Regions from separate parts of the Homo sapiens genome. Here all the other regions are linked to region 1. Evidence: promoter capture Hi-C in 16 types of primary human blood cells and fetal thymus (Javierre and others, 2016). All regions are on one chromosome and are shown on one strand. Each heading gives the region's core, a stretch centred on a gene start or on the middle of the fragment in contact. The rest is flanking DNA. Distances are from core to core; before and after follow the strand shown.

What was found. Contacts are between HindIII fragments. The CHiCAGO score rates a contact against its expected background, and 5 or more counts as called.
Region 2: a contact is called between a fragment that was not itself captured here and the fragment with the promoter of ERI3 in region 1, in 6 of 17 cell types (megakaryocytes, monocytes, neutrophils and 3 more). The highest score is 9.7, in megakaryocytes.
Region 3: a contact is called between a fragment that was not itself captured here and the fragment with the promoter of ERI3 in region 1, in 8 of 17 cell types (megakaryocytes, erythroblasts, monocytes and 5 more). The highest score is 8.1, in megakaryocytes.
Region 4: a fragment that was not itself captured here is called in contact with the fragment with the promoter of ERI3 in region 1 in 3 of 17 cell types (endothelial precursors, M1 macrophages and megakaryocytes); the score reaches 5.4 in endothelial precursors.
Region 5: a contact is called between a fragment that was not itself captured here and the fragment with the promoter of ERI3 in region 1, in 5 of 17 cell types (neutrophils, M0 macrophages, megakaryocytes and 2 more). The highest score is 7.3, in neutrophils.

Annotation. Positions count from the first base shown.
Region 1 is chr1:44,353,963-44,356,662 of GRCh38, forward strand. ERI3 (ERI1 exoribonuclease family member 3) reads right to left here and starts at 1,295. Exons shown (of 9, transcript NM_024066.3): 1 at 930-1,295. The coding sequence starts at 1,064. RefSeq lists a silencer at 1,030-1,259 and enhancers at 1,129-1,629, 1,530-1,579. The HindIII fragment of the contact is 14,792 bases long and covers 1-2,700 here.
Region 2 is chr1:44,607,572-44,610,271 of GRCh38, forward strand. The region is part of intron 2 of RNF220 (ring finger protein 220); the gene reads left to right. Among named protein-coding and RNA genes, the nearest start is that of SNORD145, 62 kb to the right of the region's middle. RefSeq lists enhancers at 1,954-2,515, 2,516-2,700. The HindIII fragment of the contact is 3,975 bases long and covers 1-2,700 here.
Region 3 is chr1:44,569,338-44,572,037 of GRCh38, forward strand. All of the region lies in intron 2 of RNF220 (ring finger protein 220), which reads left to right. Among named protein-coding and RNA genes, the nearest start is that of MIR5584, 25 kb to the left of the region's middle. The HindIII fragment of the contact is 7,268 bases long and covers 1-2,700 here.
Region 4 is chr1:44,552,242-44,554,941 of GRCh38, forward strand. The region is part of intron 2 of RNF220 (ring finger protein 220); the gene reads left to right. Among named protein-coding and RNA genes, the nearest start is that of MIR5584, 8.1 kb to the left of the region's middle. The HindIII fragment of the contact is 947 bases long and covers 882-1,828 here.
Region 5 is chr1:44,586,076-44,588,775 of GRCh38, forward strand. The region is part of intron 2 of RNF220 (ring finger protein 220); the gene reads left to right. Among named protein-coding and RNA genes, the nearest start is that of MIR5584, 42 kb to the left of the region's middle. The HindIII fragment of the contact is 5,716 bases long and covers 1-2,700 here.

The DNA.
Region 1 (2,700 bases), core at 45-2,544:
CCAAGTCCCTGTTTATAAATTGGCTTTTAAATGGTAGGAGATTCAGGTATAATAAACTAAGCTCCAAGCAAGAACCCACTAAAACAAGGCATGCTGTATATGATAAAGTCAGAATAAAGCAGAATTTGATGAAGCCAATTTCTGGAAGAAACTCTACAATCAAAACTCATTTAGCCACTCACAACCTACTATAGTTTGAATAGCGTACACTCTTTTAGCCAATAGGATTCATGTTTTGCTGCCCTTCCGCTGGGAGACTGATTAAATGTCTGACAAGAGTAAATGCCATTGAAGTGGCCAGAGACCTCTCGCAGACACAACGATGGGCACTATTTGTTGCAAAATCCAGCTCTAAGGACAAAATCCAAACCCCCATTGAGGGGCCCCACATCCAGCATCTTCCAAGTCAACAAGGAGCAGTTATATTTTGCAAGAACTCGCAGTCAAGCCTCAATCCAAGTTCATGCTTTTTTTAAGAAAACACCTGTTGCTGGACCATTTGCAAGACAGGCAAACAGAAAGCTAGCCAGGTTAGGCCCTTATTCACTCCTTCCACCATCACTACTACCACCGCTTCAGATTTACAAAGAGGTAAACTGCTAACCTGGTGTGTGGGCATGTGTTGGCGAGAGGGTCAAGGGAATGTTCTACCCACAATCTCCATGCTCCATTTCTAGCCTCTCTAGTCAAACCTTTTTCTTCTCTAGTAATCCCAGTAAGTCAACCCCCTTAATAAACTCACCCATCCTGTCTTGCAAAGCTCTGCCCCGCTCCCCCTCCGCCAGAACATTACTCAGTAGATTAAGTAAGCATCCAGGGTAAGCACATGGGCCAGCACCCCAGGTTGCATAAATTCTGCGCACCGCGACCCTCACCCCGCATGCATTAACCAGGGCCCAATCTTGGCGGGGCCATTCAGCATCACCCACCCCGGGGTGTTGCCCCCAACTCGGGCCCATCCAAGTCCAGGGGAGAGTAAGGGGAGGGGCGGGGGGCCAGGAGACCAGCCCTCCTTCCCAGGGCCGCCCCCGCCCCCCGTCAGCAGCGGGAGAGGCTGTCGCCATGGCAACGCCCCCTCCTCGGGGCCAGCGCGGCAGGCTCCCTCCAGGTGCAGGCCCCGACGTCTCCCTCGGCCTCAGCAAGCGCTCAGGGCAGTTGGCGGCGGCGGGCGCGGCCCGCGCCGACTGCGGCGCCGGCCAGGCAGAGGCAGGGCCAGCTCCGCCCGCTCCCCACCGCCCGTTCCCGGCCGCCTGAACAGCGGCAGCCAGCACCACGAGTCCACAACACACCGACTCACCTCCGCGCACTCTGACCCCGACCGACGCGGCGGACGGGCGGGCGCTGTGGCCAACCGCTGAGCCCGCTGCCGACCCCTTTGACCAATGGGCTGCAGTCAGGCGGGGCTTCTTCTCCCCAAACGCTCGCTCTCCCGCCGACATGCGCGCTAAGGTATGTCAAGATGGTGACTCCCGGCCGCCGGCCTTATGGGACTTGTAGTTTTGACGTTGCACAAACTCAGAAGAGAAGACGGGGACGGGGACATCACTTCTGATCTGTGAAAGGAATTTTTTTAAAATGAAACTTTCTATGGCCTACAGCGATCTAACCAGGATCACAGACACACATTAGTGGAGCCCCCCATCTCCGTTTTCCCGCCCTCCAATATACCCGTAAGGTGAATGTGGGCTCACAACGTGACAGAATTCTATTTACATGACTCCTCATGATTCGTTCATTCAACAAGTAATTATTGTCATCTACTTTCGGATGTGGGCCTGGGGGAGACCTGAGACAAGGAGGGATTAAGCTAAGAGGAAAATGCTTAGATTTGTGAAGGGCCGTCCTAAGGAAGAGGGAACTGGCTTGTTCAGGTCCACTCAGAGGAAACTTCTGTTTAAAAGGTTTCTGGCCTCAGCTGTGAGGAGCTTCCCCAGTCAGTCTCTCCAGTAAGCTGGAGAGACCTGTGTTTCTTCATCCTGGTTATGCCTTTCTGGGTAGTCATGGGTCCCAGGTTATGAGCTGGGAATGATGGCTTTGACAGCTTCCCAATCGGTCAGGACCCCATCCTCTGGGCCCAGCTTCAGTTACCAAGCCCCTCTGTGTGCTGTCTGCATACTTACACTTAGGATGATGTCATTTCTGGGCCCTACCACCTCTGAGAGCGGACCTTACCATAACGGTTTCCACCTGAGCTGAGAGTGCCTGGTAATCCCCATATCAGGGAATGCCTTCCTTAATCCCACCCACGTCATAGGTTAGGTGATTCTGCTGTGGACCTATAGCATTTATCATATTGTCTTATAATTGTCTGTTTCCTTGTTGTCGCTCCCACAGGGTTTTAAGTCCTTTAGGAAAAGCATTTTTTCCATATTGTTCATGTTGTATCAGTAATACACCGCATAGGGCAGGTATAAAGAAGGCCCGCAATAAATGTCTGCGAACAAATGAGGGAATATCCAGCAGCAGGGACAGACTTATCCCGAGGTCAGTAAAGTGGAGGCACTATCCCCCAACTCTTGGAGCTGGAACAGATTCTCCTATTATTACCTACACATTAACCCCAGTTGGTCAGTCAGTCCATCTGTATTTATAGTGCCTCTCTTAAGTGTCAGGCACTGTTTCTGTTGCTGAGGATTCATTGATGAATAACGACACACCTCTATTCTCAAGGAGCTTTTAAATTGGAGAGGGAAGCTGGGT
Region 2 (2,700 bases), core at 142-2,641, 250 kb after region 1:
CGCCTCCTGGGTTCATGCCAGTCTCCTTGCCTCAGCCTCCCGAGTAGCTGGGACTACAGGCGCCCGCCACCACGCCCAGCTAATTTTTTTTGTATTTTTAGTAGAGACGGGGTTTCACTGTGTTAGCCAGGATGGTCTCGATCTCCTGACCTCGTGATCCGCCCGCCTCGGCCTCCCAAAGTGCTGGGATTACAGGCATAAGCCACCACGCCCGGCCAAATGTGCTGTTTTCTATCTAGAGCACCACTTCCCCCAATCACTGTTTGACTGGTTCCCACGCATCCTTCAGCCTTCGCTGAATGTCACTTCCTTCACCTTCCAGACCAGATGATATACTCCCCTAGTTCTGTGTACTTTTTTTTTTTTTTTTAAGACAGGGTCTCACTCTGTAGGCCAGGCTGGAGTGCAGTGGTGCGATCATAGCTCACTGCAGCCTCAAACTCCTGGGCTCAAGCGATCCTCCTGCCTCAGCCTCCCAAGTCGCTGGGACTACAGGCACATGCCACCACAGCTGGCTAATTTTTTAATTTTTTTGTAGAGATAGGGTCTAACTGTGTTGCCCAGGCTGGTCTCAAACTCCTGGCCTTAAGCAGTCCTCCCACCTCGGCCTCTCGAAGTGCTAGGATTACAGGTTTGAGCCACCACACCGGCCCCATGTACTTTTCTTTTCCTAAGACCACTCTGGGGACAATCGTTTCATGTTTCTATCCATTGTTAGGTCCTAAGCTCCCTGAGGGCAGAGAGTGCGCCTGTCTTCATTATTGTCTGGCATCTGTGCTATAGCGACCCCTAATGGGCATCCAGTAAACATCTGTGGAGTCATATTGAATCATTAGCTAGGTGAGTGGGTAGGTAGGTAGGTAGTTGGGTATTGTTCAGGTCTGGATTCAGACAGAACTGGATTTAAATCCCTGCTCTGAACTTTGTAGCTGTCACCACATTGTTCTGAGCCCCATTTTCCTCATCAGTGTGATAGAGACAGTAACACCTACCTCACAGAACTGCTGTAAGGATTAATGAGATAAAGTATGTGTAGTATTGACCTACAGCCAAATATATAATGATACTTGATAGACAGTTGTTGTTATTACAAATGGACAGATAATGGATAGATGATAGGTAGATGGACAGATGGATAAACCGACATATAAACCAATAACCAGATATATGGGTAATGATGGATAGGAAGAAGGAACTCCATGGGGGCCAGAGGAGCTAGGGCCAGGGCACCTACTGAGTGGTAAAAGATCTGGATCATAGAAGGGAAGAAGGCCAGATATAGGCAAGGCAGGGCAGGTGTCAGGATGGGGCAGATATAGGCACAAACAACAAACTTTGCTAGTGTGTTACTGGAGGCACTAATGACTCCTCACTTGTACACAGCCCTGATTTCACTGGATCTTCACAGAAGTCTTGGGAGTTAGATATCATTATCCCCATTTCACACAAGGAGAAATGAAGCTCAATAACGTTAAGTGATTTGCCCAAGGTCACACAGCTAGCAAGAGGCAGCTCTGTTGAATTCTGCTTGAAGTTCCTGTTTCTTGGTCACTAGGAAATGGAAGTCTTTCCATTGCAGGGGTTGGGGTAGGACACACGTGTGTACACATGAACACACACATATACCCACACACATACTCTTAAAAGTCCCAGCCTCCATGGCCATCTGTCATTACAGTCACCCTCACCCTCATTTCAACCCTCCTCATCCCTGTCAGACACCAGTCGATCAAGCCATGCCTTTTGTGGTCTGTAGAGAAAAAATAGAGATGGAATTTGTTGCTTGGACAAGCAGAGGCGAGAATGGAACTCTCATGCAAAAGAACTGGGACAAAACCAAACATGCCAAGCCAGAGAGGCAATCACACGGTGGGGAGCTGCAAGGCCAGACGTGGGTGAGTGGTCAAGGAGGGGAGGGCTTTCCCTTTGAACAAGACGCCCGACCTCTATATGTCCAATTCTGCACCAGGCTTCGCTGTGGAAGATGGCAGGGAAGGGGCAGGTTGTGCCGGCACTTGAGTTGCCTGTTCCCAATGGTCAACCATTCCCAACAGAGGGGGGCAGCAGAGGGCTGATCTAGGACCCCGGGTACCTGAGGCCTTGTTTCGAGGCGAGAGGGCTGGGCTGGCTGGAGCCTGGCCCAAGCTAGGAAGAGGGCTGCCTTGGCATGACCTCTTCTCTCCTCCTCGACAGGCCTGTCCTTCGCAGCTTACCATCAGTCACTCCCTGTTGGAGCCTCACTGTTGTCCAGCAGGAAAGGTATTCTAGCAGCTCAGCAAGGAAAAGGGACTCTCTGGAGGTCATACAACTTAGGGAGCCTCCAGGCTGGGACCTGATTCCCCTGACTCCCGGTCCCTGCCTCTGCAGAGTCGCCTCCCTGCTCTTGGAGCTGGAGTTGCCCTGTGTAAGGCTGAGGATGGGGTCAGAGCCCCTCCCCTCCCTGCCCTCCTCCTGCTTGCAGGGATACCTGTGGCAAGCAGAGAAGTGGAGGTGGCAGGCACTCCGCGACTGGGGCGGTGGGGAGGGAGGTGAGGTAATGAATGTGGACGGGAGGCGGAATGAGCGATCCATCTTTGCATGGGAGGGGAGGGGGCTGCGGGCGTTCCCCCCACGCACTCACACACTCAATCAGGCGCTGTCAGACCTCTGGCCGCCTGGCATTTTGGTGAAGAATCTCTCAGCTAAAAATTGTTGTCAGTC
Region 3 (2,700 bases), core at 139-2,638, 220 kb after region 1:
TTTCAGCAGAAAATCGCCTGGGAAAATTACACGTAACATTGCATTAACATTCTATTTGAACATTTTCATCACATTTGTTATAGAGTTAATAAGAGGGATACGGTCCCCTGACTTCTTCATGAAATTATGGGCTGACGATGATAGTTTAATCTTTTAGACTTTATATAATATATTCACTTTACTAATTGAGCTATCCAAGGAGCAGTTAGAGATGTTCTTAAATGTGGAGACAGAGGAATCAGGGCCATGACTTTGCTGCCAGAGGCACCGCCTGTCAGGATGGGGCTGTGGGCAAAGCCTGCTGACTTAGGCACCAGCTCAGACCCCACCCTGGCAGAGCCAGGATCTCTACACTACCTGCTGAGAAGCCAGGGTCTGGTGGGAAGGGGTGTGGGGCTGCTGAGGGGGAACAAGGAGGAAGGGAGAAGGAAGGCCATGGGGAGCTGAGAAAAGGAGACAAAAGGGGCATTTCTTTCTAGACCACTCCTTCAATAGTCATTTGTTTAGACGCCCTCTACCCGCATCGTCCTGGGCCCCAGCAGGAGTTCATAGTCTGAAAGGGGTAGCAGGCCTATGATGGTGTTTGGTATTACACTTGGCAGTGGTTCTAGGTGCTGTGAGCTCCTAGAAGATCGGGCACCCTTGGGACCATCCTATGAAGGCCCCTAGAGACAGGTGCCAGAGAAGGCGCTGCCCCTAAAGGCCTTTGCAGCACAAAGGAAGGAGTTGCTGTTTTTCAGGTCCGAATGGAAGCGATGGGTATATATTTTGGGTAATGGGGAGGAGAGCTGAGCGAAGTTCAGACAGTCCAGTCCTTTGTCACTGCTGTAGTGCCTGTGCTTTTCCATCCCTCATCTCAGTGAACAGCAGCAAAGCTGAGAGGCAGATCTAGTGAGGGTGGAGGTCCTGTTCCTGACTCACCTTCCATGACGCCTTTACTGGGGCTTTTCTTACAAACCCCATCCAGCGCTGTCCCTTTCCCTTGTCCACTTTTCTATGACAGTATTCTGGGGGATCTTTGGTAACATTTCTTCTGAAAATTGCTTGTCTTCTTCCCTACTAGAATGTAGCTGTTTGTCCGTTCCATTTGGCGCTGAATGTCCACCACACAGGAGGCACGCCATGTGTTAAGGACTTATGTTGGACTAAGGAAAGTAAAGTACAGAGGGGTCGGATAATGTCCCCGAGACTATGTGGTTAGATCAGAACAGGCTAAAGCCGAAGTCTCCTCCTTTCTATTTCACCTCTGAGTCTTGGCACCTCTTTTTACTTTATTGATCCAATGTATCAGGAATGGGAAGGCATCCAGACTTCTCCCTCCTTCACGCTCATGTCGCGATGCAGGTCACTGTCATCTCACACTTGTGCTATTGCAATCTTCCTGCTTCCTTTCCGGCCCTCCCACGATCTATTCTTTGCACAGCAGCCAAAATAAGCCTTTAAAAGATAAATCAGGCCGAGTGTGGTGTCTCACACCTGTAATCCCAGCACTTTGGAAGGTCAAGGCGGGTAGGTCATTTGAGGCCAGGAGTTCGAGACCAGCCTGGTCAACATGGTAAAACCCTGTCTCTACTAAAAATACAAAAATTAGCTGGGCATGGTGGTGCGCACGTGTAATCCTAGCTACTCAGGAGGCTGAGGCAGGAGAATCGCTTGAACCCAGGAGGCAGAGGTTGCAGTGCACCAAGATCACACCACTGCATTACCACCTGGGTGACAGAGAGAGACTCCATCTGAAGAAAAAAAAAAAAGATAAATCAGATTATATTACTGCTCTGCTCCTAACTTTTCCAGACCTTCCTATCACACAGAATAAAATCCAGTGTCCTCTTCCCAACCTACAAGACCCTACAGTCTGGCCCCTCTTCCATCTGCTCTCTCTACCACGGCCACATTATCCCCATCGTTCCTTGAATACACTGAGTACCTTCCCCATCAGAGCCTTTGAACTTATTTCCTCTACCTGAAACACTCCTCCTTCGCAGATCCTCATGACTCTCTTCTTCATTTCACTCAGATATCTGCTCAAATGTCACTTCTTCAGAGAGGCCTTTCCTGGCCACCTGCTGTCACTCTCAGCATCTCCTTACCCTGCTCATTTTCCTTCATTTTGCGTGTGCCTACCTGACATGCCACTGTGTCTTTATTTGTTGGTTGCCTACTCCAGCAGTAGAAAGTAAGTTCTACATTCACTGTTAGATTTCTAGCTCCTGGAACATGGTAGGTGCTTAATAAATTTCTTGAATAAATGAATGAATGTTTGCTCTGCTTTTGTCTGCACATGTTCTATCAGGGTGATCTCATGATCTTCCATGTAAATGCTACACCATATGCCAGCAGCTTCTAAATCTTAACTTCAATCCAAATCAATCTCCTGAGCTTCCAACTCACTTTCCAGCCACCTACAGGACATCTCCCCATGTGTCGTATGTCTAACACACATATGTCCAAAATGGAACATACCATTTTTCTCCCTTCTTTAGCTCCCATTTCATTAAATGGCACCACAATCTTAAATGCCCATCCAGAAACCTGAGATTATTACCCCTCTTCCTTTCTCAGACCTCCATCTAATCAATCCCTAAATTCCGTTCATCCTACCCTTAAATAGCTCTCAGATCAGTCCACTTCCCTCCATTTCCAAGGCTCCTAGCCTAGTCCAGGCCACATTGCCATCTCTCACCCCAGTGACTGGGACAG
Region 4 (2,700 bases), core at 105-2,604, 200 kb after region 1:
GGTGTGGCGGCTCGTGCCTGTAAGTCCAGCACTTTGGGAGGATTGCTTGAGCCTAGGAGTTCAAGACCAGCCTGGGCAACAGGAGTGAGACCCCACCTCTACAAAAAAAATAGAAAAAGCTAGCCAGATGTGGCAGCACATACAAGTCCCAGATACTTGGCAGGCTGAGGTAGGAGCCTCGGAGGTCAAGTCTGCAGTGAGCCATGATTGTGCCACTGCGCTCCAGCCTGGGCAACAGAGCAAGACCTTGTCTCAAAAAACAAACAGACAAACAACAACAACAACAAAAACCCATCAATGGCTCCCTGCTATTCTAAACTTCTTCTTTTTTTTTTTTTTTTTTTTTTGAGACAGAGTCTTGCTCTGTCACCCAGGCTGGAGTGCAGTTGCGCAATCTCGGCTCCCTGCAAGCTCCGCCTCCCGGGTTCACGCCATTCTCCTGCCTCAGCCTCCCGAGTAGCTGGGACTACGGGCACCCGCCACCACGCCCGGCTAATTTTTGTATATTTAGTGGAGACGGGGTTTCACCTTGTTAGCCAGGATGGCCTCGATCTCTTGACCTCGTGATCCGCCCGCCTTGGCCTCCCAAAGTGCTGGGATTACAGGCGTGAGCCACTGCGCCCGGCCTCTAAACTTCTTAATGCAGCCTAGAAGACCACATGTCATCTGATCTCTACCACTTTTCCAGCCTAATCTCTCACCACGCCCCGCCTTGAGCTACAAATTCCAGCCGTGCTGAGTTACTTTCCTTTTCCCAAGGCACTGTGTTCCAGCTCCTCTCTTTGCACATACTGTTCCCTTCTTCTTCTCCCTATCTCTTCCTCCCCCTGTCAACTCCAAGATTTCCTTCAGATCTTAGCTTAGACTCATTTCCTCTGGGAAGCTTTCTTCTGTCCACCCCACAAGAGTAGGATAGGTGCCACTTTTGTGTATTTCCACAGCACTCCTCATACCCACTCTTCTAATAAGGTTATCTTCTTGTAATTGCCTCCCTGCTTGTCGGTCTCTCCAACAAAATTGTGTTCTTAGTGACATCAGGATTATATTTTGTTTATTGCTTGTGGTATCCATGGTGACTAGCATAGTATCTTGAACATGATAAGTGCCCTACAAATATTTGCTGAGTATAAGAATGAATGAATGAATGAATGAATGAATGAATGAATGAATGCTTCATGGCATCCAGCTACCCAGTCCTGACATTCTCTGAGTCTCAGTTTCTCTCTCACTAAAAACGAGATGACTTCTTTTTCATTGTTGTACTCTCTGCAAACCTGTAGAAATGAACCCCTAGTGGCTATGAGAAGCTGCCTAGGCCAAGGGCGTGGGATTCAATTGCTGTTTGGTTTCTCTACACTCTGCCCATCAACAGGAGGAGGCACTTAGTATTGAAAGACTCATGGTAGACAAAGTAGGATAAGACTGATGAAAACTTTCTGGAATAAATATATGGTCCAGTTAGTGTCCCATCTCTGAGAATGCCTGCTATACTAGTCAGTGTTCTAGCAAGAAACAGAGGCCCACGAATGGGGTAACAAAGGAAAGTTTAAGGAAAGGACGATTTATAAAGAGAAGGTGAAGTACTTCAGAGCTAGCAACGACAGGGGAGCTGTTACTACCCCTGGGATTGAAGGAGCATATACCAGCACCCAGGAAGAACTGCGGCTATGACCACGGCTGCAGGAGGAGCTGTGACTTTCAGGAAAGGAATGCTAACCCTTGGCTGGCAGAGAAGGAGCCAGGGCAATACTCACCCCAACTGCTTCTCTCCTCTCGTTCTCTAATGTCCTCCATGTGTCAAACCCCATAGGAATCCTGAAGGCAAGCAAGCTTGGTTGTTGGGGCAGAAGACAGAAATCAGCTTTCAGGGCACAGAACAGAATGGAGAAGGGTGATGTGTGTATCTGCAGAAGCGAACAGATATCTCTCTGGCCCCTGCCCCCAGGAATGGAGGAAGGATGGAGATGAGGAGGGCTGGGTCTTCTTATCCACTCAGGCTTCACCCAGGACAGAGAGCAAGAGCCATTAAAGAGGCAAAGCCCAGAATTTGGGAGCTGGCAGCCTGGTAGGCATTGAGGAGGGACTTGGGCAAAAAAATTGAGGAATGCTTGCCACTGCTTAGGACATGTCCTTCTCGCCTACCCTTACTCCTTTGCTGTCTTACTCCCCTAGCCTAGAACTGGATCCCAAGCTGAGACAGAATAGGAATCCTGGCAGGAATTTCAAGATTGTGCTCTCTGATGTATTCATACTCAATAAAGCTCTCTGTCCTGGAGAAAAAAGCTCCAATGTCAGACCCAAGGACAGGAAACAGTTGGGCTGAAGGGGATCCCATTGATCTGGGACTTGGAATCAGCTGAGAAGAGAATGGAGGGTCAGGAAGATCTACCCTTTCCCTAGAAATCATCTGAAGCAAACCTGTGGGGCTTGGGAACCCAGTGCCCTGCATCAGAGCAGTTCCTTGCATGCAGCCAGGTGGGGAGCCAGTCTGAGTTCCAGCTGGAATTTCATAGCAAGCAGGTAGAAGGCAACGGCCCTCCCAGCTCACCTTCACCACCCACCTTTTCACTCGTTTTTTGGTCTCTTCCTTTTTATCTCCACTGCTTGGTTGTTCTAGTTCAGACCTGTCTTTGTCCCTCCTCTTAGATTTTTGCAATAGCTTCCTTACTAGTCTCCCTGCCCACAATTCTGATTCCTTAA
Region 5 (2,700 bases), core at 180-2,679, 230 kb after region 1:
TAATGTAATAATTTAATCAGTAGTTCTGTGTTTGGGGAGTCTAGGTAGTTATTTAATGGGAAGAAATGAGGTGGTGGAAAGGGAGCTGTTTTGAAGAGAAGATAATTATTTCTGACTTAACATGTTTCACTGGAGGTGACAATGGAGAGTCCAAATGGACATGTCCTTTGGGCAGTTGACAATTCGGTGTGGGCATTCAGGAGAGACATCAAATTGGAGGCAGGTTTGGGAGTCCTGGAAAGTTGACGTTCAAGAGGGTAAAAAGATAAATTCTCTAAGAGCAAAGGGCACAGCAGTGACAAGGTCCCCGGATCAGGTCAGTGGAAGAGGCATGAGGGACAAGGTAAGGATAGAGGGTGGTGTGGAAAGGAGGACAGGAGCGCTGAGGAAGAGCCCCAGATGCCTGAGGAGGGGGTCACAGCTCCAGGGACCCAGGGAGCTGCTGCGGATGACACCAGGACAGCGATAAGAGCTCCATCCCAGACGGTGGGGAAGGAAATGAGGCGACAGGCACAGGTCCTTGTTCCAGGAGGCAGACTAGAAGACAGAAGAAAGGAAGGAGATAGAGGAAGCGGCAAGGTCCAGGGAAGGGTTGGCCCTTTTAGGAGACAGTTACACACAACGTAGAAGACAGAGGAGAAAGGACCGCTCTCGTGGCAAAAATGCAAGAGCGAGAGGAATATCGCAAGGGCAAGGTCCCTGCTGAGGATGGAGAGAAGTGGCTCTAAGGGACAGTAGGCACTGGTTTTGGAGAAAAGACAAAAGTTCTGAAAATTGAGGGAAGATGGAAAATCAAGTGGAGGCAATGGATATTAAGCTGAAGAGAGAAGTGGCTAACTCCTTTTACATGGGGTTCTCAGTAACCGCATCATAACAATGATAATTAAAAGTTTATATATGAAATATTGTCCCCCTCCAGTCTCTACCGGAGACACCTCAACTGCCCTTGGATGGGCAGTTGATCCCTTAACAACATGGGCAAATTCCCCCTAATTCCCAGTTCCTTCTGTTTTTTTTAAAGTTGGTGCAGTTTGAAATTCCACTATTGTATCTTCTTCTCTTCTTCTTCCTTTTTTTTTTTTTTTTTTTTGAGACGGAGTCTTGTTCTGTCACCCAAGCTAGAGTGCAGTGGCACAATCTCGGCTCACGGCAACCTCTGCCTCCCAGGTTCAAGTCATTCTCCTGCCTCAGCCTCCCTACTAGCTGGGATTACAGGCACCCGCCACCACGCCTGGCTAATTTTTATATTTTTAGTGAAGACAGGTTTCACCATGTTGGCCAGGCTGGTCTCAAACTCCTGACCTCAGGTGATCTGCCCACCTCAGCCTCCCAAATTGCTGGGATTACAGGCATGAGCCACCACGCCCGGCCACTGTTGTATCTTCTTTAAGGCATTTTTCCCCTTCTCTTCATCACCTTGTGGCAAGGAGGGGGTGGAAAGAGATGGGGAACATTCCCGCCCCCTCTGTGCTGGCCTCGGCTCCTTTGACAGGGAAGAGGGAGGGGGTGGAATGGTCTCTCTTGCCCCGCAGGCTGCTGTAGTCTAGCTCTCTGGTGGTATTAGTTTCCCTGGCCAACAGACAGGCATCAGGGTTCTCTGTAGGGCTGGTTCTCTTCTAGGGCACATGTGTTCCGATAACTTAACCTGCTTGAGCCTTTGTTTCCTCTTCTGTAAAATGAGTAGCTCTGGCTTGGACCGGCCTTACAGGGGCAGTGTTAAGGATTAGACAAATGCTTGTAAAGCACCTTAGACACAGTGCTTGCTCCACAAATGAACTCCCATTACCAGATGCGTGCGTGAGATAGCTCCTGGCATGAATGTGCATTTGCGGCTATGTCCAGATGTGTGTGTGTACCTGTGTGTGCAAGGGAGAGTTATGTGTGGGCTGGGGATGGGGCACCCTTGTGAGTCAGCTATTGCCTGTGTCATTGCCTACAGCTGACCCCGAGGCCATAAATCCTGCCTCTGTACCCGCTAGAGTGAACACCTTATAGCCCAAGGTCAGGCCCATGAATCATAAGCGGCGCTGGCAGGAAGCAATCAGGCAGGGCTGGGTAGAGCTGGGCAAGAGAAGGTCCCAGTATTTGGACCACTTGAAGAGGAGCCCTGGGCATATCCTGCAATCCTGATCTCTGGGAGCCGGGCTGTTCTCAGCAGGACGGCAGCTCCCATGGAGGCTCGCTGGCAGGGAGCCCTTCTCTACTTGACCGCATCTCTCCTGCTGGGGCTGCCAAGCGGCAGACCTGCCCTGCCAAGACAGGCCTGTCCTGCATCCCGGGCACCAGCACGGCCAGTAGGCGAGCTGCTCTTCAGGCCTTTCCCTTGGAGGCTTCAGAGTCCTTAGCCCAGCACGCTCAGCCTGGTGGATGTGGAGTAGCCGCCCTCTAAGCCAGATGATTTTATTTCTTCTTTGCCTTTCCAATCTGTCTTGGGGAAAGTGGCCCCAATAAGGCAGTCCTTTCACTCTGAAACCTTTTTATGACTCCAACCATAATTAACTCGAGTAATAAAATTTTTCAAATCCAAATAGATATAATTAACATTTAATGCCCCTGGTTGGTGCTGGTAGCTGGGCCCATTAAGAGCACAGTATTGATTGAGAAGGTGAGCCAGCTGGGCCGACTGCTGGGCCAGGGGGCAGAGGTGGCTGGAGCTTAGGGCTGGCTATGAGCAGGGCCCCAGCACAGGTGTGAGGAGGG